2 separate regions of the Homo sapiens genome follow, and region 2 is linked to region 1. Evidence: promoter capture Hi-C in 16 types of primary human blood cells and fetal thymus (Javierre and others, 2016). All regions are on one chromosome and are shown on one strand. The core of a region is centred on a gene start or on the middle of the fragment in contact, and the rest is flanking DNA. Distances in the headings are between cores, read along the strand shown. Region 1 holds the start of CCDC59 (coiled-coil domain containing 59). Region 2 has its middle 28 kb from the start of PTPRQ.

Region 1 (7,281 bases), core at 2,926-5,425:
TGGACCAAACTCAGTGAAACTTTGTCCCAGATGTTCACAATATTGACCTATAAACAATGTGTTCAAAATCCTATTTTTGACCTACTAGTATTGCTTGACATAATACAAGCAAGGACTTGGAATAAGATGCAATCCTCTACCTTTGCTCAGACTACTCATTCATTCAACAAATATTTACAGAGAGAATACTGTGTGCCCAGCACCAAGAAGCACAACAGGTATAGTATATATATTTAGGATAAATAAGAAAAACTATACTAAATATTTTCAAAGTAGAACTTACTTGTTTCTTAGCAGCACGTTTGGCTTGTATCTGTTCATATTCTTCTTGTGCTTTTTGATTTGATGTTTTCTTTTTATTTTTCTTTGGAATTGTAAAGGAGCTTTTAATTGGGGGATGAGGAAACAGGACTTTATTAGTAAAATGTCCAAAAAGGTATTAAAAACACAGTTGTAGCTTTTAAGAGTATATATTAAATAAAAGGCACAAATGGGGATTCTTAGAGAAATATTTCAACTAGGAAAAAATATAGAAAGCTATGAAAAATCCTAAAATGTTAAAAAAAAAAACTTTTAAAAGTAATGAAACCAGTATATGAATGATAGAAATGCCAGACTGAAAAAAGAATTAAACTTGTTGTTTAAGGATGTTAAGAAAATTATGTGTATATATGAACTTTAATCTCGAAGTTTTCTGAGCCCCTCCTCTCTATTCCATTTTACCTACCTAGTCATGAATCACCATACCTTGGATCTAGATACCATTTTGAACTGTTCTATCTTTAACTACTTCTCACCTCTCTGAAGATGTCCTTTTTGTCAAGGCTAATCCAACTACTTGGAATTCCATTCATTTCCTCAGCATCCTTGATTCAGTAATAACTTTACTTTCCTCTATCATTCAACTTTTCACTATACTCTGTAACTACAATATAATATTTTAATAGCTACTAATCACTAGCGACTTTGGACTAGTGACTAGTGACTGCCTAGTCCACAAATCCAGAGACCTGTCCTCAGTCCTATTCACCTTCAACTTTATAGTACAGTAGCACACCCCTTATCCATGGTTTCCCTGTTCCACGGTTTCAGTTACCTGCAGTCAACAGAGGTCCAAAAATATTAAATTGAAAAATTCCAGAAATAAACAATTCATATGTTTTAAATTGTACACCACACTGAGTGTTTGCTTTAAGTGAAAAGGTAAAAGTTCTTGACTTAATAAGGAAGGAAAAAAAATCGTATGTTGAAGTTGCTAAGATCTATGGTTTTAAAAAAAATCTTCTATACATCAAATTGTGAAGGAAAAATAAATTCATGCTAGTTTTGCTGTCATACTTCAAACTGCAAAAGTTATGGCCACAGTACGTGATTTAAGATGGAAAAGGCATTAAATTCCCAAGTAAAAGACATTAACAGAAATACATTCCAATTGACAGAAACTGGGTTTGGTACCATTTGCAGTTTCAGGGCATCCACTGGGGGTCTTGGAACATCTTCCAAACAGATAACGGGGGACCACAATATTTGATAGCTGACTAATCCCTCACAACTTTTCTCTGTGGACTGAGCTGTCACTGTATTTCTCTTTCTCCAGTCCTGAAAAGCTTAACTTCCTCAATGACAATATTTTCCCTGTTTCCACCCCAAAATAAACCGTAATCTTTAAAAGCATGATTTTTTACCTTCCTTTCTCATGATTTAAACTTCCTTACTTCAATTATCAGAGAATAACTCAAATCTACATTTCTACTGCTAATCTTTTCCCTGAACTTTATACTGATTATTTAACAATATAATGATCAAGCCTACCAAAAGTAGTAAACTTTTTGTGTCTCTGCCTTCATCCCCAATTACATTTTTACCCCCCGTGGTCCCATTTCCTGTTATTTTTAGCGCAAATAGCTCACGACTTTAAAAGATACGGTTTTAATGAAGTAAAAAATTATGCTCCCAAGTTAATACCCAGCTTCTTGCAATTTTAGATTTTAGCATTGTTTTTTAACTTTAAGTATGCAGCGATAGTTTTTTATAAGTTAACTCTTATAAAACCAAAGCGTCACGGAGCTGTGCATTTGCAATTGCAACCCATTTCTGGTCCTCTGCAGAAAATCCAGATTAATAGTAGTAGCTAACGCTCAAGAGCACTAACCACGTACCATATATACCCTTTAAGATCCTCATATACATTAACTCGCTGAGTCTTCACAACAATGTCATGAAACACCTTAGGAACACCTGAGTTTATGTGAGTAATCCATTCTGGAGCTGTGCAACATGGCAGCTCTGAAGTATATATTCATTACAGTATTATCTTTCCCAATTTAAAGAGGACATAGTGTTATTTTTCCCATTTTAAAGAAGAGGTCACTGGGGCACTAACATGTTGAGTCTGGCTCTAGAACCCATACTGTTAATGACTAAAATTATAACACCTCTCAGAAGTTATTTTTCAAAAATATAGTCATAACATATGGTCCAATCAAGTTACCACCTGTACTTGAGAGGAAGAAACCCAAATTCCAGAGCTCTTAATTCCCATTACGTTACTTTGTCAATTAGGCTAAACCAGCCTAATTCAGTTATTGAAGCTAAAAATAGAGCCTCCATGAAAATGTTTCCCTAATTAAACCGTGACTTCTAAAATGTGTTAAATAAGAAAAAATACAATTCCTATATAAATTATCCTATAGTACTTTTAAATAATAAAACAACACTTAAAGGATTTCAAATGAAGAAAATACATACTTTACTGTTTTAATACATTGTTCTTCTGGCTGAGGCTGGTCAAAGCTACACTGATCTTCAAATAAAGGCTCGTCAATGCTACACTGTTCTTCAAGCAACGGCTGGTGAACTTGTTCTGACAAAGGATGGTCGACTTTTCTTGCTTGCTTCCTATGTCTTTCCTCTTCAGCTAAATAGAGATGTTTCAGATTATCTGGGTATCGATCTGTGAATTGAGATTCCAGTGACGTTTGAGCCTTCTTTTCCTTCCGTAGCAATTTCTTGTAACTTTGCTGTATTTTCAGTTTTCTTCGAAAAGCAAAGCCTTGTCCTACATTGAGGAATATCATCCAAAATTACTTTCAGAGAAAAGAAGTTGAACGAAGAATGGAGCTGTTAATTACAAATGAAAACTTTTTTTACGTCATCACATTCAGATTCTAGTATTATATTTTGCTTTAAAAAATTATTTCAAGCAACAAATTTAAGCTGATGGATTGCATAGTAAGTTGGCCCTTTGCAAAAAGACCAGGCTAACAGTCATGCGGAAATCCAAGTAAGAATCTCAAAGAAAAACTGACCAGTTCAGACTGTTGCACAACTTGAGTTTACAGCTGTATTCACAAATCAAAACAAATTCCTTAGTTCATCTAAAACACTTAATCTGAGCCTTCAATAAATGCTTAAAAAATAGGAAAGAAAATGCCACATCTAGTATCTTGGACAAACTACATGTTTTCGAAAATGTTTCAACACGAAAGAAAAAGACAGTGTATGGTTGTCTGAAAAGCTAGCAATTATCGGAAGACTGAATTTAACATTTATATATTCCAAGTGGGATCTAAGAGACCTTACAGACAGCAATACAAAATGACAAACACAAATTAAAGCGAAGGCTGGAGGGCCTCGGGTATTTGTAATAAGGAAGAATTCGGAGCAGTGTTTCTGGCCCTGTCCTCCTCTCTATCCTTTACCTTACCACATGCGCAAGAGTTCACAGGGTCATAGACTCTCTCTGCTCAGTTTCTCAGGAAAAATATAGGAAAAAAGTTCTGATGAAATACAGGGTTACGTCAGAAAAGACGTTTAAATAATAGCAACACTGCTCCGTCTTCCTATCTAGAGCTCTGCGAAGCTCACAGCTTTAGCGGGCTCAGGAATGAATTCCCTTGCCCCAAGTAGGACCGGGTCTGGTTCCTAAATCCTTCTTCCAAGCTTCAGCGAATCTTATATCCTAAAACTTAGCAAGCCTGAGGATTTGCAAATGGTTGCCTTCTTACATACCCTCGCGAACGCTCCCCACGAAGGCTTGCGGGTGGTTAGGCCGCCATGTCTTCTGTCTCACATTCTTATTCCTGTACCCGACAGTGGAAACCCCTTCACCACGCGCCTCAATACCACCAGGCCGCCACTTCGCGGACCGCCTCACCGGCGCCATTGCAGCCGACTAACTGCGTCATCAGAAGACCACGACGGACGCCCACAAAATACGTCACCAAGCCGAAGCAATCAATCGCTCAGAAGGAATCCGGCTCGGAGCTCTACTGAGCCTGCCTGTGCTAATTTGGGCCGAGCTGGCGCCTCACGGCCATGTTTGCGCCACCTACAGCCTCGGAGGGTGAGCGTCATGGCGGCTTCTTGCCCTCTCCCGGTGACCCCGGACCTGCCCACGCTGCGTGCCAAGTTGCAGGGACTGCTGCAGTTCCTGAGGGATGCCCTGTCCATTTCCAATGCACATACCGTGGATTTCTACACAGAATCCGTGTGGGAGGAGCTGGTCGACTTGCCACCGGAGACAGTGCTGGCTGCGCTGAGGAAGTCAGCGTCGGAGACGGAGGCCCTGCCCTCAGAGACGCGCCCCCTAGTGGAAGCAGAGTGGGAAGCAGGTGGGTGGTGGGGTAGGCGGGGCGGGAAGGGAGGCGGAGGAGAAGGTCCCGGCAGACGAAGCGAGCCCCCTGGTGGAAGCCAGCAGAACCAGGTGCGTGGCGGCGGAGGCGGGGCGGCCCGCTGGGAAACCGAGGAGGGGTCGGATTAGTTGAGGGGTGGGGTGGGGATGTTCTTTGGAATCAGGATCACTCTTTCTTTGGGTGCTTGTGTATGTCCACAATTTAAAGAAAGCAGGAAACAGGGCAGGGGAGTTCCTTCATCTAGTAATTCCATAATAATTGACGCTAGGGAAACTAGGGGAGCAGTGCTCTCACAGGTTTTATAAATGCCAGCATGTGGTGGAAGATTACTCAACAGTTAATAAAGATAATTTCAAGTGGTGGTAATGAAGTAGAAAATAAAAACAGTGTAATGTGGTAGGGATTGTGTAAGGAGGCTGCCTCAATTTAGGAGGTCAGGAACATGAGAAGGCACTAGCTGCAGAGCCACAGGGAGGGGTTGCAGGCGGTGGGAACCGCAGGCTAGGCTTGGCTCTAGCCAGGTGAGGGGCTGCAGGTGCAGGACGGGAGGCAAGCAGAGGCCAGATGGCACAGGCCTTTCTAGGCCTTGGAAGGATTTTGGATTTTAAGTGTGACGGAAACCCTTGGGATTATTTAGGCAACATAGTGACCTAATTCACATTTGAAAAGATAACTGTGAATTATTTGAAGAATAGACTAGGGCAAAAGCTGAAGCTGAGAGGCCAGTTAGGAGACTACCTCAGTAGTACAACAGATGATTGTATCTTGGACTAGGATGGTATTCGGATAGTCACTATTTCATTTAAAAACTATTTTAAAGTACCTAATATGTGTCTTGAATTTTTGTAGGCTCAAGCTTTTCCTACCCTCAAGAAATGTAGATTCTTCTCAGGCAAGCATATTTTGGAAGTAGAATGATGGACACCAACAGGCTTCTGGGATTTTTACTTTCCTTCTAGACTTCCCAAAGTTACCCTTACTAGTGAACTTTATTCATTGAGCATTCTCTGAATGCAAAGCATCACTAGAGGGACCTCTTATAATAGCACTTGGTAAATACTGTTGTTGTTTTTTTAAGTAATTGTTATTGAAAAGTTAGGCACTTCTTCAGTTTGCTCTCATAATAAATATATGGCACTTATGATATGACAATTTTACTTAAACTCCAAAAGAGCAGAGTCTTTGTCTGACTTGTCAACTGATGTATTCCCAGCACTTGGTAAAATACTTGGCATACATTAGATACTGGATGAATATTTGTTGAATGGAGGAATTAATGAGTTACTCATGTTAGTTTTAAATAAATAAAATGAAACTACTCTCAAGTTTAGAGTGTAAGACTTTAATACGTGTTTAGCCTGGTCTCCAGACAATGGTAGAGTCAGATTGTCTTACATATTCTAATAATAATTGGATTATTTGATATTTACTATATACCCTGTAGTGTGCTAAGTGTCTTCATGTGTATTTTCTCTTTTAATCTTTACATCAGCCTTGCAAGATAGGTTCTGTTATTGTCGATTTGTGGAATTATAACTTGAGGAGTTAATTTGCAAGGGATATAGCTGATAATGGAAGATTCTCAAACCTGGGTCATCTGATTTGAAACTTTTTTAGTGCTGTAAGAAAAAAAGTATACTAGATAAGGGAGGAGTAAGTAAGGGGAAGAAGAGGAAAATGTTTGCATTTTTAAGTAAGTTGTCCTGGCAAGACCTCACTGAGGTGACTCTAACGCTGAAAAGATAAGAAAAAAACCGAGCCATGAAGATCTCTGGAGGGAAAGCAGTCCATTTAGTGACAACAGGAAACAGAAATGCCCTGACGAGGGAGCCTACAAGGTATGTTTAAGGAGCTGTAAGGAGACTGAAATAGATTTCCACTAGGGACTCACAAGGAGTATGGTCTTGTGTCCGGAATTGTTAGGTTCTTGGTCTCACTGACTTCAAGAATGAAGCCACAGACCCTCTCAGTGAGTATTATAGTTCTTAAAGGCGGCGTGTCCAGAGTTTGTTCCTTCTGATGTTTGGATGTGTTCGGAGTTTCTTCCTTCTGGCGGGTTCGTGGTCTCGCTGGCTTCAGGAGTGAAGCTGCAGACCTTTGCGGTGAGTGTTACAGCTCACAAACGCAGTGTGGACCCAAAGAGAGAGCAGCAGCAAGATTTATCACAAGGAGTGAAAGAACAAAGCTTCCACAGGGTTGTCGCTGCTGGCGCCAGCAGTCTGCTTTTATTCTCTTATCTGACCCCACCCACATCCTGCCGATTGGTCCATTTTACAGAGAGCTGATTGGTCCATTTTGACAGGGTGCTGATTGGTGCATTTACAATCCCTGAGCTAGACATGAAAGTTCTCCTAGTCCCCACTAGATCAGCTATACACAGAGCACTGATTGGTGCATTTACAAACCTTGAGCTAGACACAGGGTGCTGATTGGTGTATTTACAATCCCTTAGCTAGACATAAAGTTTATCCAAGTCCCCACTAGACTCAGGAGCCCAGCTGGCTTCACCTAGTGGATCCCACGTTGGGGCTGCAGGTGGAGCTGCCCACCAGTCCCATGCCGTGCGCCCGCACTCCTCAGCCCTTGGGCGGTCGATGGGACCAGGCACTGTGAAGCAGGAGGCGGTGCTCGTTGGGGAGGCTTGGGC
Region 2 (7,281 bases), core at 2,332-4,831, 1.9 Mb before region 1:
TTTTTTCTACCAAAGTCCCTAGAAGACATCTTTTTTTGTCATAGCCTTGGGTGGAAAATAAATTTATCTTTATTTATCATAAGATAAACAAATTATCACATGAATATTAGTTCACCCAGTTTTTTTTAGTAACACTAGACCCAACGAACAGGTCTGCATATTTTAATCAGTTTTACTTGGTTCTTTATTTTCTCACACTGTGTAATGTATTGACCTCTAGGGGGCAGTCTCATACTAGCATTTTTGGCAAATGCATTTCTACCCTCCTCTTAACCTCCACATAGCAGTTTTTGAATCCTTGTCCAGAACATAATCATTAAAGTAATCGATTGTTTTAATTAATAATTCTATTTATTCCATAAAATATAAGGACGTATTTTTAAAAAGATAAAACATTATCTTACAAAACAATGCATAATTAAGCACATTTTGGCAATATATTCTTATAAGTGTAGTGTGTGTTGTGTATTTGACATGCAGTGTGCAAAGTTCTTTGGAATTTCAACAGCTAAAATTTAAACACCCTAGAGCTGAAGTAGGTGGAATGGAAAACCTGCATGTGCACAGATATAGATTAATTAACCTTCCTATACTTATTGGGAATATTTAAGATTCTTTGAAAATAATAACAATAATAGATACAATTTAATGCTTACTAAAAACCAATGCTTAACATACAAGTATTCAGTATTGCAAATCCTAATAAAAATATTTTTCCAATTGGATAGTAGCAGGTGTTTTCTCTTCTCCAAACTCAGACTAAGTATCCTTCCATTGGCAAATGCTTGGTTTGTTGGGTCCTTTACACTTTAGGAAGGTGCTTTCATTTTTAATTGACAGATGGACTAGGAGGATTTCTCACAGATTTATTAATTTTGAAGTCGACTTAAAATCTTCTAGGAAATATACCTATTTATTTCATAAAAGGTACAATGTGAATCAGCACTTTTAATTTTTTGGGGAGTCATTTGCTGTGTATTTTTACTGTAAGCTGATATACCAGTGCATGTCCAGGATTTAGTAATCCAGTGTTCCTTTACTCTCTAAAGCTTGAGGAATTATTCTTTTTTTCATTCATTATTCACTCAATGAATTATTTTTCAGTATCAGGAACTGAGCTAGGCACTAGAGATACAAAGATGAAGAAGACCTAGTCTCAGTAAGAATGAGACAAATAAGTTAACAGTGATAGTGCCGCATTATAATTGCCATTAGAGTAGTTATGCTGTGGATACTATGGGAACATAGAGAAGGATCAGTTAGCCCAAACTCAGGGTGCCGATGGTCATGGGTAAGTGATGGGCTTAATCATGAAGGAGTAGAAATTAGCCAGCAGGTGACAGTAGGGAGGCAGAAAGATGCTGCAGGTAGAGCAAGCAGCATGTGCCTAGGCAAAGGACAGAGAAAAGACATTCAACAAAGCTGACCTAGGAAAGCTAGAGAAGCCTTTTTGAAGACACTAACATTTGAACATTAGGAATGGCTAGAGAACAGAGGGGCACGTAGGGAGAGTCTAGAAAATGTAAGCTAGGCACAGAATGTGAACACCCTTGATACATACTCTGGAGTATATTTTATTTAGTAACACTGAACCTTTTTGGGGTCATGGAGCCTCTTGAGAATTTAAAAAAAATTAACTCTTATGAAAATGCAAATACATGCACAGACAATTTTGTAAGCAAATTCAGCGCTATCACAGACCCACCAAATCCCAGCGTTTCCTCAATCTCTGCTTATATGTGGCATTCGGTAGATTACATCTAAGTCCTCCACTGCAGTAAATGTTTAAATAGATTTTTAGGTTTTGCAAGAATATAAGAATAATTTTCTGAAGTTGTTTCACCCTGGAATCTTATTGGATAGTGTTTCTAATTGGATTACTCTGGCATTTTCTGATAATTTTACATAAATAATTAACTTAAACATCAGCTACAGTTTTGTGAAATTAAGATATGGGATGCAGACTAAGGGTTCCACCCAGAATATTTTCCTGAGAAGTTAAAATGTGATATTAAATTGTACTGATAAAGAAGTCAACTTTAAAACGGATAAAAGTTCAAATAATAGTTTCGGCAAACTATAAAAATCATAGAGAATTCTTTAAAGATTTTTAAAGTAAAACTACTAAAAAGTTTAAAATTGCATAATTATCCTTAGAGATATGAACTAATGATTATTGTAGCTGAGAACTATTAAAAGATCAGGAAAAACATACTATAGGATAAACAATACTATAAGGAAAACATTTACAATTTCCAGAAAACTGTATGATAGGAAAAAAATCAGAAGGCTTGGTATTCAAGGAAACGGTGCAAGGAAATAGGCTGAAGTATCATCTTCAGTTATTATTATAAAGTATCAAGAAGATTCTCCAATGATATTATGCATGAACAGTGAGCATAACCTGCTAATTTCCTCTATATTTCTAATAAATATCACACCTTTCAAAAATCAGAAAAGTAGTATAAAGTTACAACTGTTTTATAATAAATACCAGCTCTGAAACTTTAAAGACATCTATATGTCAATGACTCATAAAGTTATATCTCTATATAACTTTATATAAAGCCTAGACTTTTGTCCCAAACTCCACATTCAAACATCTAACTGCGTATGCATTATTGCTCATTTGGTTATCTATGAGATGTTTTAAATTTAACATGCCCAAAACTGAACTCCAGGTGTTTCTACCCAAATCTGCTTTATCCACAGCCCTTCTCAGTTCATGGTAATTTTATTCATCCAGTTGTTTAGTCAAAAGCCTTGAAGTTGTTCTTGACTCTTCTGTTTCTCTCACAACCCATTCCCAACCTGTCAAGAAATCTTGTTTGTTCTGTCTTCAAAATAAATCCAGAGTCACACTATATCTCCCCACCTCCCTGAGTGCTGTTTTCATCCAGGCAACCATTCCACCTCACCTGGATTATTGGGCTGGCTCCCTATTTCTACCACTGGCCCTCCATGTGGTCTGTTATTAATGTCACGGCCCAAGTGAGTCTTTAAAAATAGGAATGATCATGCATCTGCATATAACTCAGTAGTTGCTACCCATTTGACTTGGAGCAAACGCCTTTGAGAACTTGCATGAACTGGCTTTCTATTTGCCTCTGACCTCATCTTATTCTCTCCTTCATTCATTCTAGCTTTCCTTCCACCCTTGAACACACCAGATAAGCTCCCACTTTAGGGATTTTACTAGCTGTTTCTTCAGCTTTAATACTCTTCTTCCAGAAATCCATATGTCTAACTCTCCAATCTCCTTCACCTTTTTGCTGAAAACCCTATCTTTTGAAAAACATCTGCCCTGAAATCCCTACTTCATACCACAACTTCCTCCTTAAAGCCACCACACTCTTCATCTCCCTCACCCTGGTTACTTTTTACTTTTTCTGCAGCACTTATCACCTCTGAAGTTCTATATAACATACGTACTTATTTTATGTATTGCTATTATCTATTCCACCTATTAGAATATGAACTCCATAAGGACAAGGATCTTTAGTTTTTACTGATGTACTCTACCTGCCTAGAAGAGTGCCTGGCACTTGGTAGGTGCCCATATATATTTGATTAAAACATGAATAATCTCAATAATGGGAACATTACTCTGATGGCACTCTTGAAAGTATGAAGAATTTGCCAAACACTTGAGGATTATATTTGTTTCCCCTTGACTTGTAATTTTTACATTTAACCATTTTAATAAATTTTGCATAGTAATAAGAATACACTTTTCTCAAAACTTGAGTGCTTTTCAAGACATGTTGACATAACAAACTGTAAAATTTACTTTGAACATTAATATTGAATTATTTTCACTCAATAGCATGAATAATGCTAACTAATAAGCTAAGATGTGTGTATGTATTTATTTGTTTACTTAAGGTATTAATCCACCTCAGAAAGTTTATGTAAAACCTGAAGATGTGGGAGAAGACCATATAATTCTTCAGTGGGAACCTTCACAAGATGGCCATGAGATCTACATTCAGATTAAATCCATATCAGATCCAAGTGAAGTCATGAATAGATTCAAGATTGATAATTTAATCCCTGGAAGTAGGAAGTCCAAGATGGGCTGCTTGCGATGAATGAAGAAAGGGAGAAACTTAGGCTTTTAACTTGAGTAATTTGGGTGCTTGGTGATGACACTGAAGAAGAGAAAATTATTGGACCTTACAGTGATTCTAGCTGAAAAAAAAAATTGGTCCAAAAAATTATGCAATGATAATGTCCACACTCAACCAGTGCTAGATCTTCCTATTTTATCATCCAAAGACTAAAACTAAATTTATGTCTGGAACTTCCATGCTTAAATTTCTAAGAAAACTACCTAAAGATAATTATAATAAGAAGTAGTTATAAAAGAGAAAACTAAGAAAGAGATATTACCAAGAAGAATTATTTAATGCCTATAAAACAACCCACTAAATAATTATTGGCATAGCAGTAGGAGTAAACTGTGAAGTTGGAAAATGATTTTTCTCCTTAGTTCATGTTTTAGCAGTCTGAGGTTAGAGAATGTCCCCATGTTATCCCAGGGTCTGTTTTCTTTCTCAAAAACTTGAGACATTTAATATATTATTTCTAAATTTCCTTCCAGGTCAAAATCAAAAGCCTCATAATTCTTTGCCTCCAGGGTACTTAGCATATTTCATCCATCTGCCATCTAAAATGTAAACTTGTTTTGCCTCTGTTTCTAGAGCTCTTGTGAAATCTTGTTCAGCTGCGTATCTCCAGCCTAAATAGAGTTCCTAGCTCTATGTAATTCAATTGTTTGTCAAACTGGTATTCAACATGGATGCAGAAACACATATTAACATGCAAATCCTAAGAAGAATAGCATTCTGGGGTTTGAAGTTAGGACAGAGATCTTGCCAATGCTCTCATATGATATATAATTCCCAGGACAGTGTCTCTGGTCATTCAGGGCTTCTGTAATTCATTTCCAAAATTTTCCCCATCATGGACCTAGTCTACTCTCTAGAACATCACAAAGCAAACCCAATCTATGGTTCACACGACAGGCTGCAAATGTTTAGAGACATTCATATGGTGTCCCTGGTTCCTATATTTTCTTTCCCTGTGGGTAATTATCTTTAATTCCTTCAAGCACTCCACTATTTCTCGTGGGTGTTCTATCCAGTTCGTAGGCTTGCTATCAGATTTAGCATCACCAGATTATTTATCAGGCATCATTTGTATTGCCTCAAAAATCCTAAAGCAAATAGTAACCTGTCCCAAGGTGCATAGGAACAAGTTTTTTTGCATGCATTCATTCAACAGATATTTATTGATACATATAATTTACCACATTGTATTTCTCTCTCTGCCATATACTTTGAAATAGTCAAGCAAGAGAGGCATTTGCCTTTTATGGGCATGTAGAAGAAAATATAATTTACACATACTTTTTTTTCCCTTTCCCCTTTGAAACTTATCTGTCTGTGCCTCTCTCTAATTTGTCCTGAACATAACCAGCAGAACTTGATCTCTAGCTATGATTGTGCACCTGAACCATAAAATGTGCCCTTAGGAAGAAGGCAGTGCTTATGAGCACAGACCATGGAAACAAATTGCCTGGGTTTGTATTCCAGCTCCATGATTTAGCAGCTTCTTACATCCTTTGCAAAGTCACTCAGGCCCTTTGGGTCCTCAGCTTCTTTCTCTCTAAAATGGGAATAATAATCATAATCTTATCTGTTTTATGAAAGTAATGTAATTTAAGGACTTGGTGCCTGGCACCAAATAAGTGCTATGACAGTGTGTGTTGTGATTTTTATTTCTCAATAGGAGTGGAGTGGTGGCCTTGGGGAGCTATGGCCATGCATAGTGGGAAGTAAAGCCATTTCAGCAGTCTGTGTGATCTCTCTTTGTTGGAGGAATTAACTATACCCAGGTTTTCTTGAGGGAAAAAGAACTATTGGAGAGTTGGTGTTTGAATTTCCTTTTTTCCCCTCTTGACACAGGAGAATACATTTTATGATAGGAGCATCCCTCAGACTTTGTTCTACCTTGCCTATAATAAAAGGCTTTGAAATTGGCCTAGTTCAGTTCACCTCATACTGAAAAAAAAATCTTGTATAGCCCCTGATCTTACCACTTCTTTTGATAAAGCTTTTACAGGAGAGCGGATAAGGATAGAAATCACAGTCCGAGGTAGAAACTTGACGAAAGTCGCCAGTATGTGGCAATATGTTTCTTTTATTCTTTTTTTTGTGAAATCTTTTCTCATATGATTTTTCCAGATCAGGATATAATTTTTAAGACAAGACAGAACTCTGTCCTATTCTACACCTTTCCAGCCTTGGTGATTATAGTGTCATGCATGACACAGCTTGGCTTATTTTCTAGGACAGGTGGAAATGATCGAAAATCCCATGCTTACTCACTAGAGGGGATGACATTGATTTTTACATACTTTTAGAACCTACATTAGACCATGCCTATTTAAAGTCACCTCTCTTTTTAGAAAATGTCTTCAGTGCCCAAGAACATGGAAGTGAATTGGTTCTATGATTATACTTGTCACTCATTTACCATCCCAAGATCTTTTAATTCCTGCTTAAGCCATACTTGGAAGCTTTCATAGATCATTGTCCACAGATTCAGATGTATTAGATATGTGTGGGATGTTACTCTTGTCTTGGGAAACTCATAGTTACTGTAGGACTTTTATAACTGAAGGGGGCTATGCAGAATTTAAAGAGAAAACCCACAGAAAATATTAGTGATGACGGAAAAATAAAAGTTAACATAATATAACTGGAGAAGGAAAACTATGATAAAACTGCCTCGAAACCCAGTAGTACACCATATGGAACTGGTTATGGTTCATTTATTGAACATTTCCTCATCACCAGCAAGAATTGAAAAGGCAAAAAGTTTGCAAGTTCCAGCTCACAAAAATTTGTGGAGCTAATGCACTGATTTTATGTTCTGAAATTCTCATTATAGGTGTGTGTGGACATTCTTTCCTAAAGTACTGGCTCTGGGTAAAGTAGCAGAATAACATTATCAAATATTTAACAGTAACTTGGAACAACTTCCATTGTATCAAACCAGATGTCACAAATAAAACTGAAAAGGAAAGGCCATCTAATTATGCTCTGGAGGGAAAAAATTCATTTTCAGATTGTATATTTTAGGAAAAGATATCTGCTTGGGAGAAATGCAGGCTTAAGGAAATATTGGATGCTATCCCCATAACCCACAAATCGAATTGAAATTAAAATTGACCTGAGAAAGAAATAATGTTACTAGAAATCATCTCAAATTTTA

The links. The method cuts DNA at HindIII sites, captures the fragments that hold promoters and counts their contacts. A CHiCAGO score of 5 or more calls a contact.
Region 2: a fragment that was not itself captured here is called in contact with the fragment with the promoter of CCDC59 in region 1 in 2 of 17 cell types (neutrophils and total B cells); the score reaches 7.8 in neutrophils.

The regions. Positions count from the first base shown.
Region 1 is chr12:82,354,212-82,361,492 of GRCh38, forward strand. It overlaps CCDC59 (coiled-coil domain containing 59), which reads right to left and starts at 4,176. Exons shown (of 4, transcript NM_014167.5): 1 at 4,012-4,176; 2 at 2,749-3,058; 3 at 284-383. The coding sequence starts at 4,165. METTL25 (methyltransferase like 25) reads left to right here and starts at 4,318. Exons shown (of 12, transcript NM_032230.3): 1 at 4,318-4,613. The coding sequence starts at 4,355. RefSeq lists enhancers at 3,985-4,545, 4,056-4,615, 4,546-5,106. The HindIII fragment of the contact is 1,548 bases long and covers 3,941-5,488 here.
Region 2 is chr12:80,412,328-80,419,608 of GRCh38, forward strand. No RefSeq gene overlaps it. Among named protein-coding and RNA genes, the nearest start is that of PTPRQ, 28 kb to the right of the region's middle. The HindIII fragment of the contact is 5,068 bases long and covers 1,048-6,115 here.